6 separate regions of the Homo sapiens genome follow, and all the other regions are linked to region 1. The links are contacts of gene promoters, found by promoter capture Hi-C in blood cells and fetal thymus (Javierre and others, 2016). All regions are on one chromosome and are shown on one strand. The core of a region is centred on a gene start or on the middle of the fragment in contact, and the rest is flanking DNA. Distances in the headings are between cores, read along the strand shown. Region 1 holds the start of SCIN (scinderin). Region 2 has its middle 600 kb from the start of ARL4A. Region 3 has its middle 580 kb from the start of ARL4A. Region 4 has its middle 560 kb from the start of ARL4A. Region 5 has its middle 550 kb from the start of ARL4A. Region 6 has its middle 460 kb from the start of ARL4A.

The links. The method cuts DNA at HindIII sites, captures the fragments that hold promoters and counts their contacts. A CHiCAGO score of 5 or more calls a contact.
Region 2: a fragment that was not itself captured here is called in contact with the fragment with the promoter of SCIN in region 1 in 5 of 17 cell types (non-activated CD4 T cells, naive CD4 T cells, total CD8 T cells and 2 more); the score reaches 7.7 in non-activated CD4 T cells.
Region 3: a contact is called between a fragment that was not itself captured here and the fragment with the promoter of SCIN in region 1, in 11 of 17 cell types (total B cells, naive B cells, non-activated CD4 T cells and 8 more). The highest score is 10.6, in total B cells.
Region 4: a contact is called between a fragment that was not itself captured here and the fragment with the promoter of SCIN in region 1, in 9 of 17 cell types (naive B cells, total B cells, total CD8 T cells and 6 more). The highest score is 9.3, in naive B cells.
Region 5: a contact is called between a fragment that was not itself captured here and the fragment with the promoter of SCIN in region 1, in 2 of 17 cell types (total CD8 T cells and total B cells). The highest score is 5.6, in total CD8 T cells.
Region 6: a fragment that was not itself captured here is called in contact with the fragment with the promoter of SCIN in region 1 in 1 of 17 cell types (total B cells); the score reaches 5.1 in total B cells.

What each region holds. Positions count from the first base shown.
Region 1 is chr7:12,567,865-12,572,758 of GRCh38, forward strand. SCIN (scinderin) reads left to right here and starts at 2,856. Exons shown (of 16, transcript NM_001112706.3): 1 at 2,856-3,121. The coding sequence starts at 2,923. It overlaps LOC107986768, which reads right to left. Exons shown (of 3, transcript XR_007060635.1): 3 at 1-3,517. The HindIII fragment of the contact is 5,456 bases long and covers 1-4,894 here.
Region 2 is chr7:13,288,736-13,293,629 of GRCh38, forward strand. No RefSeq gene overlaps it. Among named protein-coding and RNA genes, the nearest start is that of ARL4A, 600 kb to the left of the region's middle. The HindIII fragment of the contact is 966 bases long and covers 2,204-3,169 here.
Region 3 is chr7:13,268,251-13,273,144 of GRCh38, forward strand. No RefSeq gene overlaps it. Among named protein-coding and RNA genes, the nearest start is that of ARL4A, 580 kb to the left of the region's middle. The HindIII fragment of the contact is 8,784 bases long and covers 1-4,894 here.
Region 4 is chr7:13,249,358-13,254,251 of GRCh38, forward strand. No RefSeq gene overlaps it. Among named protein-coding and RNA genes, the nearest start is that of ARL4A, 560 kb to the left of the region's middle. The HindIII fragment of the contact is 621 bases long and covers 1,570-2,190 here.
Region 5 is chr7:13,231,854-13,236,747 of GRCh38, forward strand. No RefSeq gene overlaps it. Among named protein-coding and RNA genes, the nearest start is that of ARL4A, 550 kb to the left of the region's middle. The HindIII fragment of the contact is 2,310 bases long and covers 1,428-3,737 here.
Region 6 is chr7:13,149,066-13,153,959 of GRCh38, forward strand. No RefSeq gene overlaps it. Among named protein-coding and RNA genes, the nearest start is that of ARL4A, 460 kb to the left of the region's middle. The HindIII fragment of the contact is 947 bases long and covers 1,808-2,754 here.

The sequences.
Region 1 (4,894 bases), core at 1,606-4,105:
GTCAGACACAGTTATTCGCCTTTAAAAGAACAGTGACTTTTTGCTGAAGGAGCCAAGGAAATAAATACTCCAGCCTCACTCTCTTTTCTCCCTCTGGTCTCCAACCAAGCCTCAAGCCAGAGGACATCAGAGCCCACTTGATTTAGCTCTTGTAGATCAACCTCAAGGGAAGGTGGAAGGGTGCAGGATAGAGAAGATATCTAAAGGAGCAAAAGGAAGCTCACCACCACATAAAAATTGTTCCTAATTATTGAGTGTTTTCTGTGTAACAGACACAAATACCTTATATGTGTCGACTCATTTAAACCAAATAATCTTATAAGGCAAATATTATTATTTTCCCATTTTAGAGATGAGGAACATGAGGCTGGCTGTGTGTAGTTAAGTAACTTCCTGAAAGTCTCAGAACTAAGGATGAAAGCAGGAATTGAATCAAGGTAATGTGTACTATAGCCTGTTATTGTCAAAGATCAGTAAGTGGTAGTAATTGGTTTCATAATTATCGTCACTACATAAAAGCTATTTAATCCCAACCAATTATATTTCCAGGGTTTTATCTCAATTATAATACTGCGAATGCATAATAAAGTATGTTCAATATGCTATTTGTAACACTGTATTGGCAAAATATACACAAAATTTAAATGCCTAGTGTTGGGGCTCAGAAACCAATACCACAAAATGTGACACTTTGACATGCTGAAATGAAGAAGGCTTAAGTTTTCTTTGACCTTCCTTCACCAATCCTCTCTTTCCCAAAGCACAGAATGAAGGTATTCTCTGAAGTTCCCTTATCTGCCTAAAGTCTCGACTTGCCAAAGAAGAAAACAGTTACCTCTGGTCTCTTCCCTGACTTTCCACAAACTGAACTCATATTGCAGAAAGAAAGACTGAAGTCTGTCAACACACACGGAGAGCTCTGCAGGCTTAACATACTTTGTCTCAGGCCACTGTATGTTCTTCAAACACATTGAATTCCCCTAAAAATCATTTTCTAACCCCCCAAATCACCCATACATCACCCATCTGCCTTTCCTCTAATAAGGAGGTACAACCCTCTGTACCTCATTGGGATATTGGCCAATCACTCTGTGATTCTCCCCCATGCCCGCTGATAAATTTGTATGCCATTTGTCCTGTTAATCTGCCTTTTGTGACTTGATTTTTCAGTGAAACTTCAGAGGGTAGAGGGGAAGTTTTCCCTTGGCCCCTACACTATGAACTGAGATAGACAAAATAAATTAGTATGTTTATAAAGTGGAATACCATATGGTCAGTAAAAACCGGTAGCTCTATGAGTACTGTGTGTTGATACACAGACACACACACACACACACACACACACACACACACACACACACACACGGGGGGGGATTCGAAAAGGTTATATGTTACATTTTCTGTTAAAAATTTAAAATAACTACATTACCTATATTCTTGTTGACAAAATTTGAGTGCCTGGAAAAATACATAAGAAACTGGTAACGTAATTGCCTTTGGGGAAAGCAACTGGGTGGCAGGGTGAAATGGAGATAATTTTTTATTGCACACATTTTGTACTTTTAATTTTTTTACCATGGTCATGTAATAACCTATTAAAAACATAATTTAATTAAGGAAAAAAATCTAATTTTGCATTATTATTGACCTTCCAGGGATTCATGTAATTTGAGAAATTGAATGAAAACAATTTTACATGCATGAAATTCAGCTTTCTTACTCTATACATCCTGAGTGATTTGCCTTTTTCAGTAACAGAATCCTTTGCTATACCAGCTTGTTAAATGAATGCCAAATCAAGAGTAAAATTTCCATCTGTATTCCATAGTGTTTTAGCCATGCTGCAAAAGCAAAACCTGTAGGTAAAACAAAGAAAATTATCACCTTGAAGCTAGGTAACAGGTAACCCAGAAGTCCGGCCAAGCATAAAATTACAGCCACAAACAGCCCTGCAGAGAACATCTCAGGACGGCGGCTGCTGGGTTTTTGTTGTTGTTTTCATCTTTCTTGGCCAAAGGAAGCAGGTGTTAAGAGAGCTCAACCACAGCTCCTGAACTCTGAGATTTACAGAGCTCTGTCACCTGGGGTAATACTGCCATTCTTCCAGGTTTTCTTCCTGTCCAAGAAATCTGACATGCTGTTTTTCATGGTATTTTCAAACTGGAAGATCGAGACAGAAACTTTGGTCGTCAGGAATGCAGAGATTGCCCAATGAAATGACAGAATTGATCATTAGGATGCTTGTTACTCAAAAAGCCCATTTTTTAAAGAAGGATGTATTAAAATTATTCCAGCATGCTAATGTGGCACACTCCTCTGCTGCCTAACGGCAGGTGTTGCTATTAGCAGAGGAAGCCTTGTTCTAAGAATTATTCTAGAGGGCCAGAAAGAACAGGTATTGCTCCACCCGAGTAAACGCTGACTCAACTCTGCAGGGCTGGCGCGCTCTTTCCTCACCTCACCCCTCCTGCCAGGCACAACTGAGATCCAGAAATAAGAGGATTAGCGAGAGAAGGGGAAATATGCAGGACGGTAGTGATGGGTATGCACAAAGGAGTGCCAAGCAGTTTTAACCGTTAATGTTCTTCGTCTATTGCTAGAGAAAATGTCTTTCCTTGGAGGAGGCATTGGCACGAGTTACTATAAACTCCCTCTGAATCTCAAGACTTCTGGGACGCCGATTCCGCTCCTGGCCTGGGGCAAGGCGTGGGAGCTTGGAAGCCAGCGCTGCGCTCCCCGTGGGAAGCGATCGTCTCCTCTGTCAACTCGCGCCTGGGCACTTAGCCCCTCCCGTTTCAGGGCGCCGCCTCCCCGGATGGCAAACACTATAAAGTGGCGGCGAATAAGGTTCCTCCTGCTGCTCTCGGTTTAGTCCAAGATCAGCGATATCACGCGTCCCCCGGAGCATCGCGTGCAGGAGCCATGGCGCGGGAGCTATACCACGAAGAGTTCGCCCGGGCGGGCAAGCAGGCGGGGCTGCAGGTCTGGAGGATTGAGAAGCTGGAGCTGGTGCCCGTGCCCCAGAGCGCTCACGGCGACTTCTACGTCGGGGATGCCTACCTGGTGCTGCACACGGCCAAGACGAGCCGAGGCTTCACCTACCACCTGCACTTCTGGCTCGGTAAGGGACGGCGGGCGGCGGGACCCCGACGCACCAAGGCCGGCGAGGGGAGGGCGTAGGGGTCTGAGATTTGCAGGCGTGGGAGTAAAGGGGACCGCAAACTGAGCTAGCCACTCGCGCCCCCACGGGGCTGCCCTTTGGGGCCGGCCACTTTCTCCCTACCGAAGTCAACTCGCCGGCTGCAAACGCGGGGCTCAGGCGTTGTCCGCAATTGACTTACCTCGCAGGCTTTGACCTTTGCCAGGTGTAGTTCCTGGACTTTGGAGCTGGTGACTGGCTTCTTCCCCTTTCACCGTCAAGTATCCAAACGCCACTCTTGTCCAGGGCCGCTGCCTCAGCGCACACCGTCTCTGGCCAAGCCCCGCTCACCTTCCGACAAACTCAGTCCTGCTTTCCCTGTCGGGATGGAGAGGAAGTCATAAAGTCTGGGGGCATCTGCCGCCGCTAGGAAGAAGTCCTTTTCTTTTTCTTCACACATTATTTTTATTTGTTGCTTTCGGGCACTGGCTTATTTTCTCTATGATTGCGGGAATTATTGTTCTGGGCTTCTTTAAAACAGGATTCTACCCGCACCATGCTGCTTGTGGGTCTGGTAGACAAAAACTCCGCTTCATTCGGAAGCTGGCGTCCTCAGATAGAAGTAAGAAAAAAATACAGATATTTTATATACAAATAAATAGCTCTATATGGGTATTTCATATATTTATGTAGACTGCTTTATTGTTATTATTTATTATTTATTTTAGCAAGGACACAAGATGGAACAGAAACGGCTCCTTCAGCAGTAGTAATTATTTTGAGCTGCGTTCGTGCCAGGCTGTCAGGACACTGGGCCTTGTGTGTTCTTTTTCCACCTTCTACTTTTACTCATAAACATCCTGAATGTCCAGCCTCTCCCCAGGAGGTCTTGTGCCAGTGGGCACACCCTGTCTAACAACATGCCGATTCTCTGAGCCTTTTTGCCTTCTTTTAAAACTAGCTAGCCTGCCCAGTACTCGTGTTTGTTTAGTTTTATCCCTGAGCTTAGGAGGAAAACACACAAAACCACACACACTTACACATTTTTGAGTCCCTGAAAGCCAACACTGTAATTTCCAACATTTGAAGATTTTAAGAAACAAAATAATAGAAAACATTGAGTAGTGACTGTCTAAACATTGGCAAACACCTGGAACAGGCATTTGAGAAATGAGAAATGAAAAATACGTAGATGAAGATAAGACTTTTAATTATAACATTTGGAGTCAAAAATTTGTGTTAGCTTGAGGAGGCAGAGAAGGCTCAGCCTGAGTTCTGAACACATTTTGGCTTCTTGATGCATTGCTGTTATTCCTATTATAATGTTGTAATACACAGTCATCTATTTGTATTTTCTGCCAGAAAAGACTGAAACTTTTATAACCCATGTTCAAGAATGAATGATGCCAGATAGAATAATGATGTCCTTACAGAGGACTTTCCATGCAGAACTTAAATCTAGCATGAATGAAAGTGTTTGAAATGCCACATTTGCCATTTGAGTAAATTAAAATGTGAAATAATGCCATATCTTACTGTAGACAGCAGTTAAGTTTGACTTTGTCAGATGACCGCAAGGGAGATTTGAACACAATTCTTTAATTCTATACATTTTTATCCAAGTTGTCCTCTTAACTACTATATTTTGTAGGGTTTACAGATTCACCTTATTCACTTAATTATCTACTTAATTATCCACTTGATGCCCATAAATTTCAAAAATATAATAGAAAATGGTTTGGGCAGAAACATTTA
Region 2 (4,894 bases), core at 1,437-3,936, 720 kb after region 1:
GATGATGTCAGCACTTTATTTAACCACCTTCAATGCCTCCTCACTTATTTTCCAATAAATCCATATTCCATAACTCAAACATTTAGGTTCTTCTTAAGTTTATATTAACCTATATGACCAGCCTTACACTTTCCCAGTACAAATCTTCTGGGAAACTCAAGGTAGCATATCCACAGTTGCAGAACATGACATGCTTTCTTGCTTACTCTGTGCTTATGCTCATATAGTTTTTTCTGCCAGGAGTTCTTTTGCCATCCTCACCTTGGCATTTGGAGTTTTATCCATTTGGCCACCCACAAATGAAGTGACTACTAGCAAAATAACTACTTAATTTACCCCCAGATGATCCTTCACAATTCTGCTGTTTTTGTCAGAAAATCCCAAATGAAGGAGTCTCTGAGCCTACTCTGGCTTAGGAGGCTGCTCTCCCCCCACAAAATAAATCCTCAAACGATACCTTAATTGTCTTAATTTATGTAACTCAGTTTATATGTGGTACCAAAGAGCTTTTTAGAGAATGATACGTAAAAGTTTGAAAAAGAAAAAAATTGGCTGTCCCAAAGCCATAGTCTTTTATTATTTGTGAATACATTTTAGGAGTTTCTTTTATGAATGACATTAGGCCTAGAACTACATAGTATGTGTGCATGCATGCATGTGCACACGCACACATTTGTGTGTGCTTTGTTACATATGTTGGACAAGTATCTCCTAATATTAAATTTTGGAACAAAAATCCTATGTAAAACATCATTAGTAGAAAATAAATATCTTCAGATTGTCTACCCTAACATTTAAAAGATATGCTCAATGATTATTACCACTGTCCTTACTATCCATAATCAACTGGATCCCTACATACCCTGCTTCAGCCATCAGGATTTTCATATCCTACAAAATCTAAGTGTTCTTCCTGGCTGTTGGATCCATGCTCTACTCGTTTAGTGGGGAAGCTCTGGCCATATTGAATGTTAAAGTACCTGAAGGCAGTGAACTCTCCATCACTAAAATTCAAAAACAGTCTTTGGCCGGACACGGTGGCTCACGCCTGTAATCCCAGCATTTTGGGAGGCCAAGGCGGGTGGATCACGAGGTGAGGAGATCAAGACCATCCTGGCTAACATAGTGAAACCTCGTCTCTACTAAAAATACAAAAACAAAAAATTAGCCGGTCGTGGTGGCAGGCACCTGTAGTCCCAGCTACTTGGGAAGCTGAGACGGGAGAACGGCGTGAACTCGGGAGGCAGAACTGGCAGTGAGTTGAGATTGCGCCACTGCACTCCAGCCTGGACGACAGAGCGAGACTCCATCTCAAAAAAAAAAAAAAAAGAAAACCAACAACAAAACAGTCTTTTGTTTCCTAGTAGTTCTATAAAATTAGCTTTTCTTATAACAGTGGCTAAAATGTAGAATTATGAGGAAAATACTGCAAAAGTGAGAGATTCTTGGCCACCTGACAATCAACTTAATTTTGGTGATAAACAAGAGCAGTGGGTCTGGGGGAAATCACCAAAAAAAGACTGTTGCATTGAATCAGTGGCATTCTCATTTCCCCTATGTATAAGAAGCCTCCAATAATCAAGTAACTAGAGATTTTGGTCTATATCAGCACCATCTTTTTGCTAATGAGTTATAATTCTTCTTTCATAATACAAATATTAATTGAGGATCTGTTTGAACTAATTGCTAGACATTAAAGATATTAACATAAAATATTATTTGTGTAGTCCTTGATTTTTAGTCACTAACATTTCAGGGTTGTGTATGTAATTTATATCATTTTTATGATGCCCTAATAATTGGATACATGGAGGCAAGAATTTTCTCTCTCTCTCTCTTTTTTTTTTCGCTCCCAACACGTTTACTGGTGCCTGACGCATGGAAAGCCTTTGATGTGTGTTTATTGAATTGAATTGAGTGGATTCAATGTCTGTTTAACAGGGGGATTAAAATGTTTAAAGAAACAAACTGCTATCTATTGAAATATGTTTCTACAAATCTCTGTCAGTTTTCCATATCTTTGTTAGTGCAACCATAGAGATAGTACTAAAAAGTAGCAGAATTTAATTTTAATTATCATCTTCATATTATAACTAAATCTCTGTCTGTGTGAATATTTTCTTTTGAGGCTAAATTGTGTGTTTATTCTTTTTAAATATATCAGCTCCTAGTATTTGGCCAACTCTTTAATCTGGTTTATTGAAGCTTACTTTATTCCGTATGTGCATTTTCATAAAGACAAAGTAATCACCACTAAGGCACATTTCCTGGTTGACTACTTCAGAGATGCTTGGGGCAGCATGTACACTGAAGTAAAGTGTTTCTCAGAATATGAACATTGTATTTCAAATCAGTTTCCAGCTGTTTTATTGTTTTCTTGTTCATAGCCACATAAGGGAAAGTGAATAATACTGAACCAATTATGAAATCATGTGTCACTCTGCTAGTGATGAAAAATGGGCTAGACACAGAATGTCATCAACTTCCCTAAGTACAGACATTCCATCAACCTTAGAAACTGAGTGAGTATTTCTAGGCAGCCAGACTTGCTTAATGGCTGTCAGGTGTCCACTGAAAATTTGGTACTCCCTTAGGGGATTGGTAATAATCCATCAAGGTTTAAGCTGGCATACCTTTCAACATGCATAGATCATTTGGCAACATCTTCAGCCTGGTACACTATCAGTTGTATATTCAGTGGATTACAATGATTAAGCAAGGCTTTACTTCTGGACTTTATGGGTTGTTGTTTTTTTGGTTTTTTTTTTGTTTTTTTTTTGCACTCATCAAATTTTTTCATAGTGGAACAATTAAAAGAATAAGCAAATGGTTACAGCAGGAACAAAATTATATCATACTCATATGGATAAAAGCCTATAGATACTTAAAATAAAAACACCATCAAAAAGCCTCTATCCCCAGCATAAAAGACAAAAAGATGTCTTTGGAAATGTCTGTGGTATCTAAACTTTAAACTACATTTTAATCCTCATATATCTCTCTGGAAGTCAGAATGCCTTCTTTTTTCCATTTATATCTGGGGGAAAAGAAATGGAGGATTTCAGTTATCAAGGTGAGTAGTAGCAATAGGGAAAGAATTTCAGATCTGGTAACACATGTAATTGTATTTTTAAAATGAAGATAGTGAAATAAACAATGTTTGCAGAAAAGCTTATTCTAATGTGCACATATGCAATAAATATTTGTTGAAAAGCTTATGACAAAATTTGAATTCTGCCTTGATTGTATCTAATCGGTCTGTTTTGTAATTCTTTGTTGCGTATAATCTAAAATTGTAAACCTAAATAGAAAAAATTATCACAGTGACAAACCTATGCAAACATGTAATTTATTAGCAAATCAGTAGTATACATAATAGCAGTTCCTTGAATACATATTATTGTGTTTCAGGCTCTATAACTACTGTCATTATATTTTATATTATTAATTCTCACAATATCTTATGAAATGGATACTGTTTTTATCCCTGTATTTTATGGAAGGAAACTGAGGTTCAGAGGATATAAGTAATTTGCCCAAGTTGTAAAGCCATCTGAGTAAAGATGGATTTTGGACCGCGGTCATGTAAGTTCAGAGGCTCTGCTACATTCTTAAAATATATAAAACATAATTCTACCTTTCTATTTATGTGGAGACACAAAAATTGATGACTGTAAAACAAGTATACATAATCAATTTCTTTTCTTTGAAATAGGGTTAGTATCTATACTAAATTTATGAAGTTTTGCAACTATGATTAAAAAGTGTGTTATTGTTTTTATTTCATACACTCACTTAATAAGTAGTTATTGAATGGAAAGCAATGTAACAAATGTTAGAGAAACACTGATGAAGTAAGCATAGCCCAACAGTCATGAAATCTGATGGGAAGGCAGACAAAAACACAAATTTATATAAGTATTTTACAGAAAAAGATCTTTGAGATAGTGTGGCACTTGAACAAATTTAAATTAAAGGTTCTGCAAGGAAGTCCTCTCTTTCTTTATAATTTAACAAATTCTGTCAATTTATAACATGAAGCTAAAATTTTTCTAATATTATAAAGGTTGAATTGTCCTCATAAAACAGAGTCCAATAAACTGCAGGCAAAATTGGGTACACTGACTATTTTTGTTTTTACAATTTTAAATAGTTATGTTTTAAATATATATTTATCTATATAATATCCTTGATGTTCTCTCTTGTCTTCAGAAGCCTGAAATATTTGCTGTATCATCCTTAAGAAAGAGTTTTATGACTTTGTCTTATTAGTTAATACAAAATTGAGAATTAGAATTCAGCAAACTTTTAGAAGGCTGGTTACAATGACTACTAAAGTCCCTTTTATCTTTCAGTTTATGATTTTTTAATTCACCTTAAATTATATTGGAAGTCTTGTAAATCAAAGTATGAAAGCAACAAGGAAATAGTAATTGTTCTCTAAAGCAGTGGTTCTGAAACTTTCTGCATCATAGATCTTTTTGGAAATCTGGAATTTCTCTGCAGATAAATGCATGTATGTGAGCAAACCCACTGAATTTTCATATATTTCCACCAGAATCTGGCCTCCTGGCTTCCTATCAATGGGTGATGTAGAGATTCAAGAACCACAGATTCAGAACTTCTTTTTCTTTTGCCAAAAGTTTGGTTGTTTACTTAGATTAGCAATGACTCTAAAATCCATAGAGACATAATTTTTCTATTTGCATTATCTGTCTGCATTCCTTTTAGATAGAGGAAATGAGCTGTCCTTGAATAATAAATTGGCTGATAGACATTACTGATGCCCCTCACCACCCCCCCACCCCCTGCTGTTTGACTCTAAAGTTGATTTTGGTTGCTCTTCTTTCTTCAATAGCTAGGAGATGTTTTAAAAAGTAAATTGTAAATACAG
Region 3 (4,894 bases), core at 1,784-4,283, 700 kb after region 1:
TTTAAGATTTACCATTATCACAAAATGCCCTTTTCCCCTCGCACTTAAATTTTCCTTTGGTTGAGTACAGACTTAAGTTAAAATTGTTTTATCTCACAGCTTTAAATATAATTATTTTCTCACTCTTCTTGTGAGAAATCTCGTGTAAATCTGATTTTCATTCTTTTGGAGATAACCTTTCCTCTCATTTCTTAATTTTACTTCTCTGCAGCTTTTAACATTATCTTTATGCTTTCAAAATGATATGTCCAGATGTAAATCTATTGCTAAAATTCATCTTGTAAGTCACTTAGTTTGATAGAAGATATATATCTGTTTTCAGCTCTAGATAATTTTCTTTTAATATTTCTAACTTGCTATTTTCTTTCTTTACTCCGTAGACCTTGGAAGTTCTGAATCCATCATTTTTTTTAGTGGTAATTATTTTTTTTATTTTTGTTATTATTATTATTATACTTTAAGTTTTAGGGTACATGTGCACAATGTGCAGGTTTCTTACATACGTATACCTGTGCCATGTTGGTGTGCTACACCCATTAACTCGTCATTTAGCATTAGATATATCTCCTAAGGCTATCCCTCCCCCCTCCCCCCACCCCACAACCGTCCCTGGAGTGTGATGTTCCCCTTCCCGTGTCCATGTGTTCTCACTGTTCAATTCCCACCTATGAGTGAGAACATGCGGTGTTTGGTTCTTTGTCCTTGCGATAGTTTGCTGAGAATGATGGTTTCCGGTTTCATGCATGTCCCTACAAAGGACATGAACTCTTCCTTTTTTATGGCTGCATAGTATTCCATGGTGTATATGTGCCACATTTCCTTAATCCAGTCTATCGTTGTTGGACATTTGGGTTGGTTCCAAGTCTTTGCTGTTGTGAATAGTGCCGCAATAAACATACGTGTGCATGCGTCTTCATAGCAGCATCATTTATAATCCTTTGGGTAATACCCAGTAATGGGATGGCTGGGTCAAATGGTATTTCTAGTTCTAGATCCCTGAGGAATCGCCACACTGACTTCCACAATGGTTGAACTAGTTTACAGTCCCTTCAACAGTGTCAAAGTGTTCCTATTTCTCCACATCCTCTCCAGCACCTGTTGTTTCCTGACTTCTTAATGATCGCCATTCTAACTGGTGTGAGATGGTATCTCATTGTGGTTTTGATTTGCATTTCTCTGATGGCCAGTGATGATGAGCATTTTTTCATGTGTCTGTTGGCTGCATAAATGTCTTCTTTTGAGAAGTGTCTGTTCATATCCTTCACCCACTTTTTGATGGGGTTGTTTGTTTTTTTCTTGTAAATTTCTTTGAGTTCATTGTAGATTCTGGATATTAGCCCTTTGTCAGATGAGTAGGTTGCAAAAATTTTCTCCCATTTTGTAGGTTGCCCATTCACTCTGATGGTAGTTTCTTTTGCTGTGCAGAAGCTCTTTAGTTTAATCAGATCCCATTTGTCAATTTTGGCTTTTGTTGCCATTGCTTTTGGTGTTTTAGACATGAAGTCCTTGCCCATGCCTATGTCCTGAATGGTAATGCCTAGGTTTTCTTCTAGGGTTGTTACGGTTTTAGGTCTAACGTTTAAGTCTTTAATCCATCTTGAATTAATTTTTGTATAAGGTGTAAGGAAGGGATCCAGTTTCAGCTTTGTACATATGGCACGCCAGTTTTCCCAGCACCGTTTATTAAATAGGGAATCCTTTCCCCATTGCTTGTTTTTGTCAGGTTTGTCAAAGATCAGATGGTTGCAGATATGTGGCATTATTTCTGAGGGCTCTGTTCTGTTCCGTTGATCTATATCTCTGTTTTGGTACCAGTAGCATGCTGTTTTGGTTACTGTAGCCTTGTAGCATAGTTCGAAGTCAGGTCGCGTGATGCCTCCAGCTTTGTTCTTTTGGCTTAGGATTGACTTGGCAATGTGGGCTCTCTTTTGGTTCCATGGGAACTTTAAAGTAGTTTTTTCCAATTCTGTGAAGAAAGTCATTGGTAGCTTGATGGGGATGGCATTGAATCTATAAATTACCTTGGACAGTATGGCCATTTTCACGATATTGATTCTTCCTACCCATGAGCATGGAATGTTCTTCCATTTGTTTGTATCCTCTTTTATTTCCTTGAGCAGTGGTTTGTAGTTCTCCTTGAAGAGGTCCTTCACATCCCTTGTAAGTTGGATTCCTAGGTATTTTATTCTCTTTGAAGCAATTGTGAATGGGAGTTCACTCATGATTTGGCTCTCTGTTTGTCTGTTACTGGTGTATATGAATGCTTGTGATTTTTGCACATTGATTTTGTATCCTGAGACTTTGCTGAAGTTGCTTATCAGCTTAAGGAGATTTTGGGCTGAGACAATGGGGTTTTCTAGATGTACAATTATGTCATCTGCAAACAGGGACAATTTGACTTCCTCTTTTCCTAATTGAATACCCTTTATTTCCTTCTCCTGCCTAATTGCCCTGGCCAGAACTTCCAACACTATGTTGAATAGGAGTGGTGAGAGAGGGCATTGCTGTCTTGTGCCAGTTTTCAAAGGGAATGCTTCCAGTTTTTGCCCATTCAGTATGATATTGGCTGTGGGTTTGTCATAGACAGCTCTTATTATTTTGAGATATGTCCCATCAATACCTAATTTATTGAGAGTTTTTAGCATGAAGGGTTGTTGAATTTTGTCAAAGGCCTTTTCTGCATCTATTGAGATAATCATATGGTTTTTGTCTTTGGTTCTGTTTATCTGCTGGATTACATTTATTGATTTGCGTATGTTGAACCAGCCTTGCATCCCAGGGATGAAGCCCACTTGATCATGGTGGATAAGTGTTTTGATGTGCTGCTGGATTCGGTTTGCCAGTATTTTATTGAGGATTTTTGCATCAATGTTCATCAAGAATATTGGTTTAAAATTCTCTTTTTTTGTTGTGTCTCTGCCAGGCTTTGGTATCAGGATGATGTTGGCCTCATCAAATGAGTTAGGGAGGATTCCCTCTTTTTCTATTGATTGGAATAGTTTCAGAAGGAATGGTACCAGCTCCTCCTTGTACCTCTGGTAGAATTCGGCTGTGAATCCATCTGGTCCTGGACTTTTTTTGGTTGGTTAGCTATTGATTATTGCCACAATTTCAGATCCTGTTATTGGTCTATTCAGAGATTCAACTTCTTCCTGGTTTAGTCTTGGGAGGGTGTATGTGTCGAGGAATTTATCCATTTCTTCTGGATTTTCTAGTTTATTTGCGTAGAGGTGTTTGTAGTATTCTCTGATGGTAGTTTGTATTTCTGTGGGATCGGTGGTGATATCCCCTTTATCATTTTTTATTGCATCTGTTTGATTCTTCTCTCTTTTCTTCTTTATTAGTCTTGCTAGCGGTCTATCGATTTTGTTGATCTTTTCAAAAAACCAGTTCCTGGATTCATTAATTTTTTGAAGGATTTTTTATGTCTCTATTTCCTTCAGTTCTGCTCTGATTTTAGTTATTTCTTGCCTTCTGCTAGCTTTTGAATGTATTTGCTCTTGCTTTTCAGTTCTTTTAATTGTGATGTTAGGGTGTCAATTTTGGATCTTTCCTGCTTTCTCTTGTGGGCATTTAGTGCTATAAATTTCCCTCTACACACTGCTTTGAATGCGTCCCAGAGTTTCTGGTATGTTGTGTCTTTGTTCTCGTTGGTTTCAAAGAACATCTTTATTTCTGCCTTCATTTCATTATGTACTCAGTAGTCATTCAGGAGCAGGTTGTTCAGTTTCCATGTAGTTGAGCGGTTTTGAGTGAGTTTCTTAGTCCTGAGTTCTAGTTTGATTGCACTGTGGTCTGAGAGACAGTTTGTTATAATTTCTGTTCTTTTACATTTGCTGAGGAGTGCTTTGCTTCCAACTATGTGGTCAATTTTGGAATAGGTGTGGTGTGGTGCTGAAAAAAATGTATATTCTGTTGATTTGGGGTGGAGAGTTCTGTAGATGTCTATTAGGTCCGCTTGGTGCAGAGCTGAGTTCAATTCCTGGGTATCCTTGTTAACTTTCTGTCTCGTTGATCTGTCTAATGTTGACAGTGGGGTGTTAAAGTCTCCCATTATTAATGTGTGGGAGTCTAAGTCTCTTTGTAGGTCACTAAGGACTTGCTTTATGAATCTGGGTGCTCCTGTATTGGGTGCATATATATTTAGGATAGTTAGCTCTTCTTGTTGAATTGATCCCTTTACCATTATGTAATGGCCTTCTTTGTCTCTTTTGATCTTTGTTGGTTTAAAGTCTGTTTTATCAGAGACTAGGATTGCAACCCCTGCCTTTTTTTGTTTTCCATTTGCTTGGTAGATCTTCCTCCATCCCTTTATTTTGAGCCTATGTGTGTCTCTGCACGTGAGATGGGTTTCCTGAATACAGCACACTGATGGGTCTTGACTCTTGATCCAGTTTGCCAGTCTGTGTCTTTTAATTGGAGCATTTAGCCCATTTACATTTAAAGTTAATATTGTTATGTGTGTATTTGGTCCTGTCATCATGATGTGACCTGGTTATTTTGCTCGTTAGTTGATGCAGTTTCTTCCTAGCCTTGATGGTCTTTACATTTTGGCATGTTTTTGCAGTGGCTGGTACCGGTTGTTCCTTTCCATGTTTAGTGCTTCCTTCAGGATCTCTTTTAGGGCAGGCCTGGTGGTGACAAAATCTCTCAGCATTTGCTTGTCTGTAAAGTATTTTAATTCTCCTTCACTTATGAAACTTAGTTTGGCTGGATATGAAATTCTGGGTTGAAAATTCTTTTCTTTAAGAATGTTGAATATTGGCCCTCAGTCTCTTCTGGCTTGTAGAGTTTCTGCCAAGAGATCTGCTGTTAGTCTCATGGGCTTCCCTTTGTGGTAACCCGATCTTTCTCTCTGGCTGCCCTTAACATTTTTTCCTTCATTTCAGCTTTG
Region 4 (4,894 bases), core at 630-3,129, 680 kb after region 1:
TGTGCAGAATCTTCTTAGTTTGATACAGCCCCATTTGATATTGTTGCTTTTGTTATGTGGACTGTTGTCACATTCAAAAAATCATTGTCAAGACCAGTGTCGAGGAGCTTGTGGAGGAAATTTTCCCTTATGTTTTCTTTTAAGAGTTTTATGACTTCAGGTCTTACATTTAAATCTTTAATCAATTTCGGGTTAATTTTTGAGAGTAGTATAACTTAGGAGTCCAAATTCATTCTTTTGCTTGTGAATATTCAGTTTTCCCAACATTTATGTACCCCATAAATATATACACCTATATGTACCCACAAAAATTAAAGCTTAAATTTAAAAACATTTATTGAAGAGAATATCCTTTCTTCATTGTATATTCTTCTCCAATATTACTTGACCATATATACATGGGTTTATTTCAGGTCACTTAATTCTGTTCCACTGGTAAATGTATCAGTTGTTATGTCAGTACCGTATTATTTTGATTACTATAGTTTTGTAATATAGTTTTAATCAGGAAGTGTGATGCTGTTGGCTTTATTCTTTCTCAAGATTGCTTTGGCTATTTGAAGTCTTTCGTGCTTCTATACAAATTCTAGAATTGTTTTTTCTATTTCCTTAAAAAAAATGCCATTGGAATATTTTTAGGGATTGCATTTAATAGATTGCTTTGGAGGCATGGATATTTAATATTATTAATTCTTCTAATCCATTAACGTAGAATAGGCTTCTGTTTATTTTGTTTTCAACTTTTTTTTATCAGTGTCTTATAATTTTTAGTATATCAGCTTTATAAAGTCTATAACCTCCGTGGTTAAATTGATTTCTCAGTATTTTATTGTTTTCTAACCTATTGTATCTGGGATTGTTTTCTTGATTTCATATTCAGGTAACTCAGTGTATAAAAATGCTACTGATTTTTGTATTTTTTTTATTCCTCCAACTTTACTAGATTCATGTATTCTCACAGTTTTTTGGTGAAGTTTTTAGGGTTATCTATAAATAACACAGTGTCATTGGTAAACAGACAATTTTGCTTCTTCCCTTCGGATTTGCATATTTCTTTTTTCTTGCCTAATTGCTCTTGCTAGGGCTTCTAGAACAATCATGAATAGAAACTGAGAGTGGGCATCTTTGTCTTACTCTTTACTTAGAGAAAATGCTTTCCTCATTTTACTAGTGAGCATGATATTAACTAGAGATTACATATATATATATAGCCTTTATTATGTTGAAGTAAATTTCTTCATACCTAGTATGTTGAGAGTTGTTATGAAACAATGTTGAATTTTGTCAGCTGCTTTTTCTTCATATATTGTGATGATCAGATTATCCTTCATTGTGTTAATGTAGTATGGCACATTTATTGATTTGCATATATTGAATTATCCTTGCATCCCAGGGATAAATCCCACTTGATTATGGTGTACTGTCTAATGGTCATCATTAAATTTGGTTTGACATTATTTTTTGAGAAGTTTTACACCTAAGTTTATCAGTAATATTGACTTTTAATCTCATTTCTTTTAGTGTACTAATCTGATTTTGGAGTCAGGGTAACACTGGCCATATAAAATAAGCTTGGGAGCATTCCCTTCTCTTGAATTTTTTTGAAAGAGTTTGAGAGTTGACATTAAATCTTCTTTAAATGTGTAATAGAACACACAAGGGAAGCCATCTGGTCCTAGGTTTTTATTCCTGGGGATATTTTTGAATACTGAATCAATATGTTGTTATTGATCTATTCATATTTTGTATTTCTTCAGTGTTGGTAGGTTGCATGTTGCTAGGAATCTATTTCTGTTAGGTTATACAACTTATGGGGAGTATAATTATTCATTTCTTATGATTCTTTGTATTTCTGTATTATCAGTTGTGATGTCTTCTCTTTTATATACAATTCTGTTTATGTGAGTATTTTCTCTTTTTTCTTGATTAGTCTAGCTAAAGGTTTGTATTTTTGTTTATCTTTTCAACAAACCAGTCTTAGTTTTGTCAATTTTTTCTGTTGCTTTCCTATTCTCCATTTTATTTATTTCTACTCTAATCTTTACTACAGCCTGTCTTCTGCCAGCCTGAGTTTAGTTTATTCTTCTTTTTCTAGATTTTTAATGTGTAAAGACAGGTTGTTTATTTGAGTTTTTAAAAATCGTGTAGGCTAATAAGCCTCCCTCTTCTGACTATTTTTGCCATCTCATAAGCTTAGGTATGTTGTATTTACATTTTAATTTATCTCAATATATTGTTATTACTCTTTTGGTTTCTTCTTTGATCCGTTGGTTGTTTAGAAGTTATATAATTTTCTACGTATTTGTGACTTTTACTAAATGCCTCTTATTGCTGATTTCCTATTTCATACCATTGTGCCCAGAACATATGCTTAATATTAGCTCAATCTTCTTGAATTTGTTAAGACTTGTTTTTGCAGAATGTTTCGTGTTCACTTAAGAAGAATGTATATTCTGCTTCTGTTGGGTGAAATTTTCTGTATATGTCTGTTAGGTCTATTTGATCTACAGTGTTGTTCAAATCTGCTGTTTCCTTGATTTTGTGCCTGGATGGATGTTCTATCCATTGTTGAGAGTAGGGTGTGGAGATTCTCTACTGTTGTTGCATTGCTATTTATTTCTCCTTCATTTCTGTTAGTATTTATTTTACATATTTAGGCATTCTGATGTTGAGTGCATCAATATCTGTAATTTTTATATCTTCTTGATGAATTGACCCTTTTATCATTATAAAATACCTTTCTTTGTATCATGACAATTTTTGACTTAATGTCTTTTTTTATCTAATGTTAAGTATGACCACCTCTGTTCTCTTTTGGTTACTGTTTGTATGCAATATCTCTCTCTACCCCTTCACTTTTAGCTTATGTGTGCCCTTAAAGCTAAAGTGAGTTTCTTGTAGGCAGAATATCATTTGGTTTTTCTTTTATTCATTTAGCTACTCCATGTCTTTAGAGAACTTAATACATTTATATGTAAAGTAATTATTAATAGGCAGGGACTTACTAATGCCATTTTGTTAATTGTTTTCTAACTATTTAATACATCATTTTTTCCTTTCTTTCTCTCTTGCTATCTTCTGTAATTTGGTGAATTTTTCATGGTGGTTCCAAATCAACTTTGCAAGTGAAGAACAAAGTTAAAGAAGTAATACTACACGCTGTGATGTCAGGCGTTATTATACAGTTTTGATAATTAAAAGAATGTGGTATTAGCATAAAGATAGAAAAAGAAATGAAAGAAAATAGAGTCCATAAATATTCTCACTAATATTTGGACAACTGATTTTTCACAAAATTGGATAACAAATGGAAAATGAATAGCCTTTTCAGTGAACCATCTGGAATAATTGATGTCCATATGTTAAAATGTAAAAAGAACTGCATTACCTATGTGCCACCATATACAAAAAATAATTCAAAGTAGGTTGTATACCTACATATAAAACACAAATCTCTAAAACTTCTAGAATAAAATATACAATAAACTATCTTTGATCTTTATGCAAAGATCTTTAACTATAACAAAGTATGATTCTTAAAGAAAAATTTAATATATTAAACTTTATCAAAATAAAATATTTCTCCTCTTCGAAAGACACTGTTAATAAAATTGAAAGCCAAGCTACTTTCTGGGAGAAAATATTTCCAAATTCTATATCTCTTGAAGGACTTTTATACAGAATATATAAAGAACTCTCCACATTAAATAAGTAAGCAATCATACACTGCTTTTAGTAATATAAATATAAAATGGTACAATCAGTCATTTTGAAAAACAAATTGGCAGTTTTATTAAAAATTTTTACATAAACTATTATATAATCCAGGCATTACATTTCTAGGTTTTTACTCAAGAAAAATGAAAGCACGTGTCCATAAAAACACTTGTACATGAATACTTATTGAAGCTTTATGTGTAATGATTAAAATGTAGGAATATCCTAAATATTCATCAACAGGCAAATAGATAATCCAACTATAGCATATCCATACAATGGAATACTATTTAGTAGTAAAAATGAACGAACTACAATGGCAGAGATGAATCTCAAAATAATTATGCTGGGGCTTTGAAGAAAAAAATATAATTATGCTGAACGAAAAAATTTCAAAAAAAGTTGCAGGGTGATTAATATGTTTATTATCTTTATCATTTTGGTGATTTTATGGGTGTACACACCTACTTAAAATAGTACACCTTAAAGATCTCAAAAAATTGTAATATTTGCCCATTATTGCTCATTAAAACTGTTCAAAAATCATGGCTCTGGATTTGATAGGACTAAGACCCTGCCAGATGACCTCACCTGGCCATAGTACCTATAGTAACTACCTGTAGACAGTAAAGAGTAGAACAATAAAATATAAATCTGGCAGGAACTTCACCCCATAATCTTTCTATCCTGTGAAACAGAAACATGAAACAGGGAAAAATTATGAATGCTAAGAAAGAGAAAAGGAGATGCTAAAAAAGGAGAAATCTAGGATGGAAAAAAACCCAGGGAGAGTATCTCTAAAATCTTTCTATCTCCTTCTCTGACTGATTGCTAAAGGAGGCATGGATGGAACAAACTCAAAGCCGCTCAGCCAAAACTAAAATATTTAAGCTTAGACTGAAGATGCCACACGAATAATCCTGGAGAGTGAACAGCAGCGGATAGCCCATGTTAGAATGCACATTCATTTGAAGGAGGGTAGACGGAGAACGTCCAAAAGGAATCTCTAAACCGGGTATCCATATCTCTGCACATGCACAAAACAGAATGCAGGGAGCCTAAATTAAGACAAAAAGTTAGACCAGGGAATGGTGCTGCGGCACAACCTACTCCAGAAAACTACCCGATATCACGGAGAAGCAGCAGTCACCACAGAAAAATAACAAGAGTCCACAAT
Region 5 (4,894 bases), core at 1,333-3,832, 660 kb after region 1:
AGGCATTAATTCTTTTCATTTGTACTTAAATGGCTATCCATTATCTAAGGAATCTGAGTATGGATATTACATCTCTGAAGAGTGAGGCATATTTATTCCTGTGTCAAAAAATGCCATCAAAATCGGTAAATACAGAGTTGGCTGTTTCTTTTTTTCTATTCATGAAATACTAGCATGCCTGTGATCAAGGTAATTATGCTCGGTTGACCTTAGGAGAAAGTAGTGATTAAATTATCATGTTTCTTCTATTTAAATTCATTATTTTGTTCTGCTGTCATGTTTGTATTTATGCTTCCAGACTTTCATTTACCATACCAGTTCAAACAATATTTTATAATATTCATTATCTCTGTTTCTATGTTAACACTTTCTACCACTGACACTCCCAGTTTTCCCCAAACCAAAATTTTTACTTCATTATGTACAAAATTCAGCTGCCTTTATTCCCCGCTGGTAGGATTTTTTATGTGATCTGGGAAGTGAACCATACTGAAGACATATCTAAGGATGGTGAATGAGAGGGAAAAAGCCACCCGACTCATCTTAATTATCCAAATTTCCTTTAGAAACTGGGGAGGCAGAGTGGAAAAACCCTGGAAAATAAAATTGTTAAGTCCTAGTGAAATCAACTGGGAAACATTATTTAACTTATTTGCATCATTTTTCTGGCATGTAAAATGACTAAAATAACGCTTAATTTGCAGTTATTGAGATTAGGTGATATGCCACATGTAAAGTACCAATCAGAGCATTCAAACATTCCTAAGTCATCTAATTTGTATTTCTTGCCTTCACTAGCTTTGGAGGCCTTATCCTAGTTCAAATGATATCTCATTAAAAACTGAAATATGAATCTTGTCATATGTTTTGTACAAGGTTCCTCTAGATGTGAAAGCATCTTGAGGGTAGAAACAGTACATCATTTTGTATACAGTACAATATGTTGTGTGTGGTAGGTGTAAAATAAATGTTTGTTTAGCTGAGTTAGTTGTATTGTTTATACATTCAAGAACATAAAAAGTGTACAGTATATATGTAGTAGAAACCAGTAAGCCTTTCTTAATACTTAAGCAGAAACTATTCATTCTTTTGCACTTAATGTGTACTAAAGAATTATCCAGCTAGGACAATCGTTTGGTTTAACCGTGTCAACCAATTACCTTGTGTAAAGGAACTGAGCAATGTAATTGTTCTTTATATATGTATTATATGTATAATCAATGAATGTGTAGTTATTTACTGACTGTCCCTTTTGTTTGTTTTGTTACATACTCCTATAGTGCTGTACTTTCTCTAACATACCCTGCACTCTGGACTCTCAACTTCATGAGGCAGAGGCTTTGCCTACACATTTTTTTAAATTGAATTCCAGTGTACTAACTATCCCTTGAACTTTGATTAATATGCCAATTAGAATAATCTACAAAAGCTTTAATCATTTTTTACCAAGCCTTGACTTTGTTACCATGTAATACTGGAATGTACAATCCTTTAATACTACTAAATTAAATATTTATATAAAAATTTTCTTAAATATGGACATTTCCTTATATTTTCAGTAGTCCGTAAGTCAGCAATTTCCCAATTGGGCTGATGAAAAATATTTTATTAAAAAATAATAGATTATAAATTTAAAAGGAAAAATAAATCTCTTTTATTTTTTATTTATTTTGTTATTTTTTTTTGGGACGGAGTCTTGCTCCATTGCCAGGCTGGAGTGCAGTGGCACGATCTCAGCTCACTGCAACCTCCACCTCCCGGGTTCAAGCAATTCCCCGCCTCAGCCTCCCGAGTAGCTGGGACTACAGGCATGCAACATCATGCCCGGCTAATTTTTTGTATTTTAGTAGAGATGGTGTTTCACCATGTTGGCCAGGATGGTCTCAGTCTCCTGAACTCGTGATCTGCCCGCCTCAGCCTCCCAAAGTGTTGGGATTACAGGCATGAGCCCCCGAGCCCGGCCAAGCCCTTTTTTATATTTAAGAAAATATTTTCTTTACTTGGACCAATGAAGATTAGTGTTTTTTACTTTTCTATGTTAATGTTTAATTGGCTTTATTTGAGTATAGAAAAGTCATGTTCTTATTGCTGACATCATTTTAAATAAAGAAAAATATGGATATTTAAAAAAGTCTTCCAAAATCCAGCTACAGAGGAGACAGGCACTGTTAACATTTTGGTGAATTCTGTTCCTTGATAGACCTTTGCCATCTGACTCCATTGCCCATTTATCTTGCTGAGGGACATGAAAGATGGTAACAGCAATTCTGCTATCCAAGCCACCATCAAACAGCCGCTCACCATTTTGTAGACACCCCTGCATTTTCAGAATCATTTTCTTGGATCCCCATTTTACCCTTTAATTTGGGTACCCATAGATGCAATTTCTCAGCATAATACTACTGCACTTCTTATAAGTTGGGGTTCTCTGACTACTGCCCTCATTCTTCTCCTTTTCTTCCTGACCATCCTCTTCTGGGAATGGAGAGGAGGTTAAGTGGTGGCTAGTGGTTGTGAGGTCAGTTTTGAGTAGTTTCCTTCCAATTATTGACAGTTCAATTTGGGCTATTGGGTTCTAAGTATCTCATTGCCTTATATTTTGAGACATAGTAAAAACAATAAGGCACCAAAGAAAAGCCTTCTCAATGTCTTATGAAAATGGGATTACAAAATTTCTAGATGAAAGTGTGATGTATTTATGTATTCATTTTTCTTTCCACTGTGAAATGTGATTAGCTAGGGCTTTTTTTCTCCTATGCCTCTTATTCATTTCAGAGGTCCAATTTGTTATTATCCAAGAATTATTTCCTCATTACTTTTAATTTTTTATAATAAATAAATATAAACCTTTTAACATTTTAATTATATTCATATCGATATTTGGACTTAATTTTTCAGCCTTTTTTTTCACAAACGTTCCTATTATATTTTATTTATGAAAGTCTCTCATGGGTATTCTCTCTTTACGTCTTGCTTTATTTCTTTTCAATATTTTAAATATTTGTTAGATACCTGAGAGTTACTTTCTCTAACAAGTACTTGTCATATGAAGAAGATTGCCTTCTAATTTTTTACTATTGCTCTCCTTCAAAAAAATGATAGCATAGTTGTTACTGCATCCTCCTTGTCCATAGAAAGTGACTGAAGACCTATTTCAAGATGTGGTACATAGGAAAAAGAAAGTCCTTAAAAATCCTCATGGTTTATGTATTACTTAATTAACTCATTCATGCTTTTCAATTCATTCAAAACGTACTTCCTGAGTGTCCACTGTTTACCAAATAGATGAAAGTTCTCTTTGATGACAGGGAACATGTATATAGTAGAAATAAATCAAAATTCAAAATCATTGCTATAATTTAGATTCCAGAACTCAATCTTACTGAATGATATACTATCCAGTTACATAATTAAGCAGCCATAAGATGTTATAGTATAATCCTCCTTTAACAGAATAATGTAATCATTTGTTTATTTTCATTGCTCTTCAAAAAAAAATTTAGGCAGAGAGAAAAACTAAAATGTGTTTTTTTAAGTTATTTCATTTATTTTTTACATAATTTTTCTTTATTTGTATAAATACTTCTTAAATAACAGATCTGTTATAAGAAAATTTAAAAATAAATTGTGCAAAGAGGAAAAAAACTATCCACACAGGTGCTAGGCTGGCTTGAACTCAATTTTAATACCATCTGGGAAAATGAGATCAGGGACCAAGGGAAAAAAAAAAAAAAGAAAGCTTTTTCTTTTTCCTTTTTGAACAGCCTGGGAGAGGATTTAGGTCAATATGTAAATGTTTGTGTACGTGAATAGGAAGCACTATGAGCTGGTTCAGAACATCAAGCTGCATCAGAGATTGAAGAAATTATAATTACATAGTATAAGACTGTTGCATGGAAAAGGGAAAATGTGATGATATCAGATGTTATTTGTTTTTTTTTTTTTTACACAATTTAGTAGCATCCTAGCAGTTATTTTATCAAGAACATACTTTTTCCATTCACATATTTGTTTCAAGATTTTTTCCCTTATATCCAGTCACCTAATGCTAAATAGGACCACAAATTGATTCTGTCTGCAAATATTTTTTTATCTGCTAGTATATTTAGTGATTGATTAGATGTGATTAATTCTAAGCAGCAAAAATTTAAAGTATTTTCCTAGTATTAAAAAGAGAAATAAGTGCCTGTTGCTTGTAATTTTTATCCTTAGCATACTGAAAAGTAATTTGTGTAGCAGAAGATAATGTTTGTACTGTTTGGCACACAGTGCTAAAAAATAAGTGCTTCTTGCCTTGGGTTATCCCCTGGGTACTGGTCTGAGGTATTTTTAGAGTGAATGGACGCATCTATGTGGAAATTCTTGCTTACCCCTGACACAGTCTTAAAGCAGATTCTCACATAAATAGAACAAAATTAATGACTACATGCAAAGCCCCTTAGAAGGATGGTGCTTAGTTCTCAATACTCAGTGAAGGGAACTGGAAGGAGTCATCAATCTTTCTTGGTAGATAAAGTAATTGTACTGGTGTTCCTACAGTTTCTAGAAGCTGCTGCCATGCCTATGACTTCTGTTCTCAGTCGGGCATAAGCATACACTAGAAGTGTATTTTAGGTGGTTCCTAAAATAAGGACTAACTCAAAAGTCTCCAGTCTCCATTACTCCTTGATTCCTCCAGGCTTATGTAAGTTATTCTTTCTTCTCTGTTATTTTGTCCCTACATTAAAACCTGCTCTCATAGTATACAAATTTCCACATCTTTCTCCCCTCCAAACTAAAATCTACTTGGTTAAAGAAAAAGCAGTATATATCAATGTTTATAACATCAGTTCTAGAACATAGAAGGCACTCAGTAGATGTATAATAAATAAAAGAATAAATGCTACCTTGATAT
Region 6 (4,894 bases), core at 1,031-3,530, 580 kb after region 1:
AAGACAGAAGTGGGGGCTTTGTGGATAGAAAACAATGAGCAAGAGAGCTGAAATTGGAGAGACTGGTAAAACTGGCTAATGTAGGTAGGACATGGTAGACCATAGTGAGGGGTATTATTATTTTCCTAAACTTTATAGCAAGTCATTAAAATGTTTTAAGGAGGGGAGTAATGTGTTATGATTGTGTGTGTGTGTGTGTGTGTGTGTGTGTTCTTTATTTTAAACACCACACTGTTTTCTCTGAGGAGAATGGAAAACTAACTTCAAGAATGAGTTTTTTTTTTTTTTAATAAGAGAACAACAGTGCATCAGTAATTTGTTTTATGTTGCAGTTCCTAAACTCTTTTACATGCATCGTTTTAAATAATCCCACAAACCTGATACGAATTGCACATAAGTTAGACATGGGCTACAGTCTATTCATAAAGAAGCTTATTGGAGAAGGTGAGTAAATTGCCTATGATCACTTGTTACATTCAAAACTAGAACTTATAAGCCCTGAATATCTACCATAGCAAGATGTACTCACTTGTGCCTCAAAATGTCCCCATCAATATTTTTTAAAGAGGATATCATAAAAGATTATTGGTAAGTCATTGAATGCCACCTTAATAACTCTTTGAAATACTTCAAAGGGAATAAATATTTTACATCGTTGCTTGATTGAATATTAGCACTGTTCAGGTTTTCAAATTTTTGTAAATTTAATGAAAATCTACCAAAGTCTATCTTTTAATACTCTATTAAAATCAATTCTAATAGGACTCATACATGGAGTGCAACTAAATATACAAAAATCATGCATTCATATAAATTATTGATATATAATATTCGATATAGCAGATTATTTAAACAAAATAAACTTAAGGATTAAGTTTTTTTATTATGAAAATATAAATGGATAAATCAACAGGTAATGTCAACAAAAGGAAGAAATAATGGGGAAAATAAAGTATAGAATACATATTAAGAAAAATGAATATAAACTAAAAACAGAAAAAGATGGAAAGAGGAATTGCATGATGAACATTTCTCTGAGAGAACCCTTGATGCTTTCTTAGTGGTGTGGCCATCTGCCCAAGTAGCTGTGCACCATTGATTTCTTACTATTGCTTTAAATCATGACCTCTAATTCAACTTTCAAGACTATAAACATAGTAATGTCCATCAACCCTATTGCTGCCTTGTTCTGTAGGCCAGTTTGTAGAATGAAAAACCCTGATCACACCATTTGCAATGCCCAAACATGGTCAGGGGTTTAGGGGTTGGGGGAGAAAGTGAACAGTTCACCACCTTCATGACCTTCTCACTGACTTGGCTTATCAACTCTGGTCAATGTTTTCATACACCTTTTCCCTCTCTCCCCTCTGTCCCCAGAAGCATAAAGTGACTAGAAATCATTTTGCAGTGACATTTAACCCTTCTTTCCCAAAGCATGCTTGTGTCATAAGGCCAAAACTTACACATAACTGACGCAATGTTCTGGTCATTGGGCAGCACTTACTACTCTCAACTCTCCTAAGAAAGGAGAGAGTTCTTGACAGTGTTGACTACAGGAGAGTTGCAAGGTAGAAAAACATAAACAATGTTCTAGCTTATTATGACATTTGCTTTTACACTTAAGCTATACCAAATATGGCTCCTGACTGGATATAGAATGGAACACATTTTTAAAAACACCTATTTGGCATATTTCAACAAAATATGTGCCCAAAATCCTAACCCCGTAAGCATCTGTGGTTTCAGAGACATTGTATACTTCCATGCAGTATAATCACTCACTAAATAGAGGCATTCTTTTAGATAAAGCTTCCATTTTTAGAAAAAAGAAAATTGTGCCAATTTTTATTTGCCAGTAGTTTTCAAATTCATTATTAAAGCAAATGAAAATGAACATTTTTGTTTTTACAGTTTTCTGTTATATGCATTGTTGTTTTTCCAAAGAGCTTCTCTCCTTTAAATGGTTATAATAAACACTATTTTAGAAATTATAAATTGTTCTACTCTGAATTGCGATGGCTTATAGATTTCTTTTTCATTCTTTTGGGCTAATAAATGTTTGCATTAAAATATAAATGTTTATTCTTTGACTCATGAAAAAATAATAAGGCATAGGTATGAAGAATATATATTTGTTATTTGGTCTTCATAATGGCATATAAGATTTAATCAACTGGATAATAAACATTATAAAGCAATATTCATGTCGAGAAGACAATACTTTCAATGAAGCATAAAGTCATGTACCTACTCTTCAGTTGTTATAATCCAGATATATGGGATGGGACAATTAACAATAAAACATCTTCATGGCATGCCCAAGCACTTGATAGGGACTTCACTGGAGCTATCTTCAATCTTTGCATATGCAGAGCCTCGTTCAGCAACTGACATGTTGTGATTATTAATGTTGGTTGAATGAGCAAGTGAATGTTCTAAACATTTAGAAGTAATAAAGTCATGAGCTTGGATATCCTTGCCTCATGTAGACCTAGTTGGGAATACGTAAGGGATTTGAAAGATGAGGTCATACTATGACTCTGCTCCTCTGGGAAATACATAATACTAAAGTAGCAAATGACATTTTTTAGAAGGTATTAAAGTTATCTCTGCTGAGATTATGCCATTATGCTTAAAATTAGGAAGAGTAATAAATATAATTGAATGAGCATCTATTACATGCTAGGCATTTTACTAAGAATTCACGTAAACTGTCTAACTGAATCTGTACAACATTCCATCTTAAATCTCATAAGCTTAAAATCTCAGAAACTTAAATAACTGGCCAAAGGGTGACAACTAACAAAGTTCCCAATCTAAACCAAGTTTCATTTGATTTCAAAGCCTCTAACGCTTCTATCCATTCTTTACTTCTGTCTAGTACTTCTGTTTTGTACCACTTTAAATGCCAAATAAAACACCAATATCTACTTTACAAAGCCAGGTCATATATCAATGCACAGCAAGGAGATATTATGTAGAATTAATTAACTAAATCTTTAGAGAGAGTGGGACACTGTCTTCAGACTTACGTAGTTAGGTAATGCATTGTCCATGACAAAAGGGACAAAACTGGCTTTAAGACAGTGACAAATAACTATGAGTCATCCTAGGTTTCAGGCTCCATTTATCCTCTCTTCAACTCTGCTCAATATTCACAAAAGTTGCTATTGGGTAATTTAAATTGAAAAAGACCAAGTAGACAGGGGAGCACTTCCTGGAATGAGAGACCATGTCTGTTTTTAAATACTTCTACCCTATTCATAAATATTGTACCATTATTTTAGAAAAATTATTTGAAATACATAAAAAGCAAATGTCACACATATTCTTACTATCCATTGGTAACACATTTTAAAATACACAATTCTTTTTTATTATAATTTGCGATTCAACTCTACTCTGAAAAAAAGTCATGAATGTCGATCCTTGAAACAGAGCTTCTTGGCCTTTGAAATTCAAGTTCAGGAATAATTTTGAGAATATAAGCATATAAAATAGAACAGGGCCTAAACACAGACATTAGGCAAATATAACTAAAGTAAGTGGCTCTTGATGACATTTTATATTCCTAATTATTGATAAGATGACATGATCTGTAATTAACTGTTGGCTAGTTTCATTATTATTTAAATTAATAATTTAAACATAGCATTACATTCATTTTTGCTATATAACCATGTACTAAATTAATAAATGCTGTATTGTAATTTCAAAAAATTATGACCAGCTCTATGATTACTTTAAATTAAATTAATTGGTTGGTCATTATAAATTACTTCAACAGAATAACTTTGGAATCAGCAGAGGTCTAACATAACTTGCTTTTATTCCACAGCTTTGTTTTTGCTAGAAATCTAGTACTTCCTCTGCTGTCTTGATGATTAACATCCAAACCACTTAAAAGATCAGTCTTCAGGCATAAGGCACATTAAACCTTCTACTTTAGTTTTCTGAATCAATTTAAATGCCTGAGAATATAATCAAATATGAATTTGTTTATTTTGGACCATATTGTCACCAATATAAAAATTTTAATATACATTAAATTAGAAAAAGCATGGACCTGTTTGAGTCTTTACAGACTGATTCAATAGATTTCGTGTAACTTTTAAAGTTAATATGAAAACTGTTATCTCCATGGAAAGATTTTATGAAGCTCAAGATCTGGTGATCAAGGATGGAGAGGATTTAGACACATCCATGAGTATTTGAGATTCATTCAACTGTAAGTCTTTCCTAGTGTCAAAAATCTTTGCCAAATTAAATTTAAAAGTTTAATTGAACAAAGAAAATTTGTGAATTGGGCAGCCTCCCAAGCCAGAGTAGGTTCAGAGGGACTCCGGTGCAGCCACATGGTGGAAGAAGATTTATAGATGGAAAAACGAAAGTGAGGTACAGAAAAGAGGTGAGACACAGAAACAGCAGGATTGATTACAGCTTGGCATTTGCCTTATTTGAACATGGTTTAAACAGTTGGTCCACTTTGGCCATAACTCAGTGATTGACACAAGAGTAGGTTACAGTCCATTTACACTTTCATTTAGGTTATAGTTTACCTATGTAAACCTTCAGGCTAAACTTAAAATATGTAAGGAGGTAGTTTCAGGCTAAACTTGATTTAATACCGGGTAATAGAGCAACAGAATGTCCATCTCTCTTTTTCTTTTGGTCCAGTGAAATTCCAGTGTTCTTATATGCCAATAAACCATGACATACTGCCTTCTTAAAAGGCTGTTACCATTGTAAATTGTAGGCTCTTTATCATATAACAGGAGTAAGGAGATTTACCAGATAGTATCTTAAAAGACTAACTTTCACTTTAATGAATTAGATTTGAATACTGACAAGTGACTCAGGAGAAATGCAGCAACATTTAGATGAGAACTTCTCA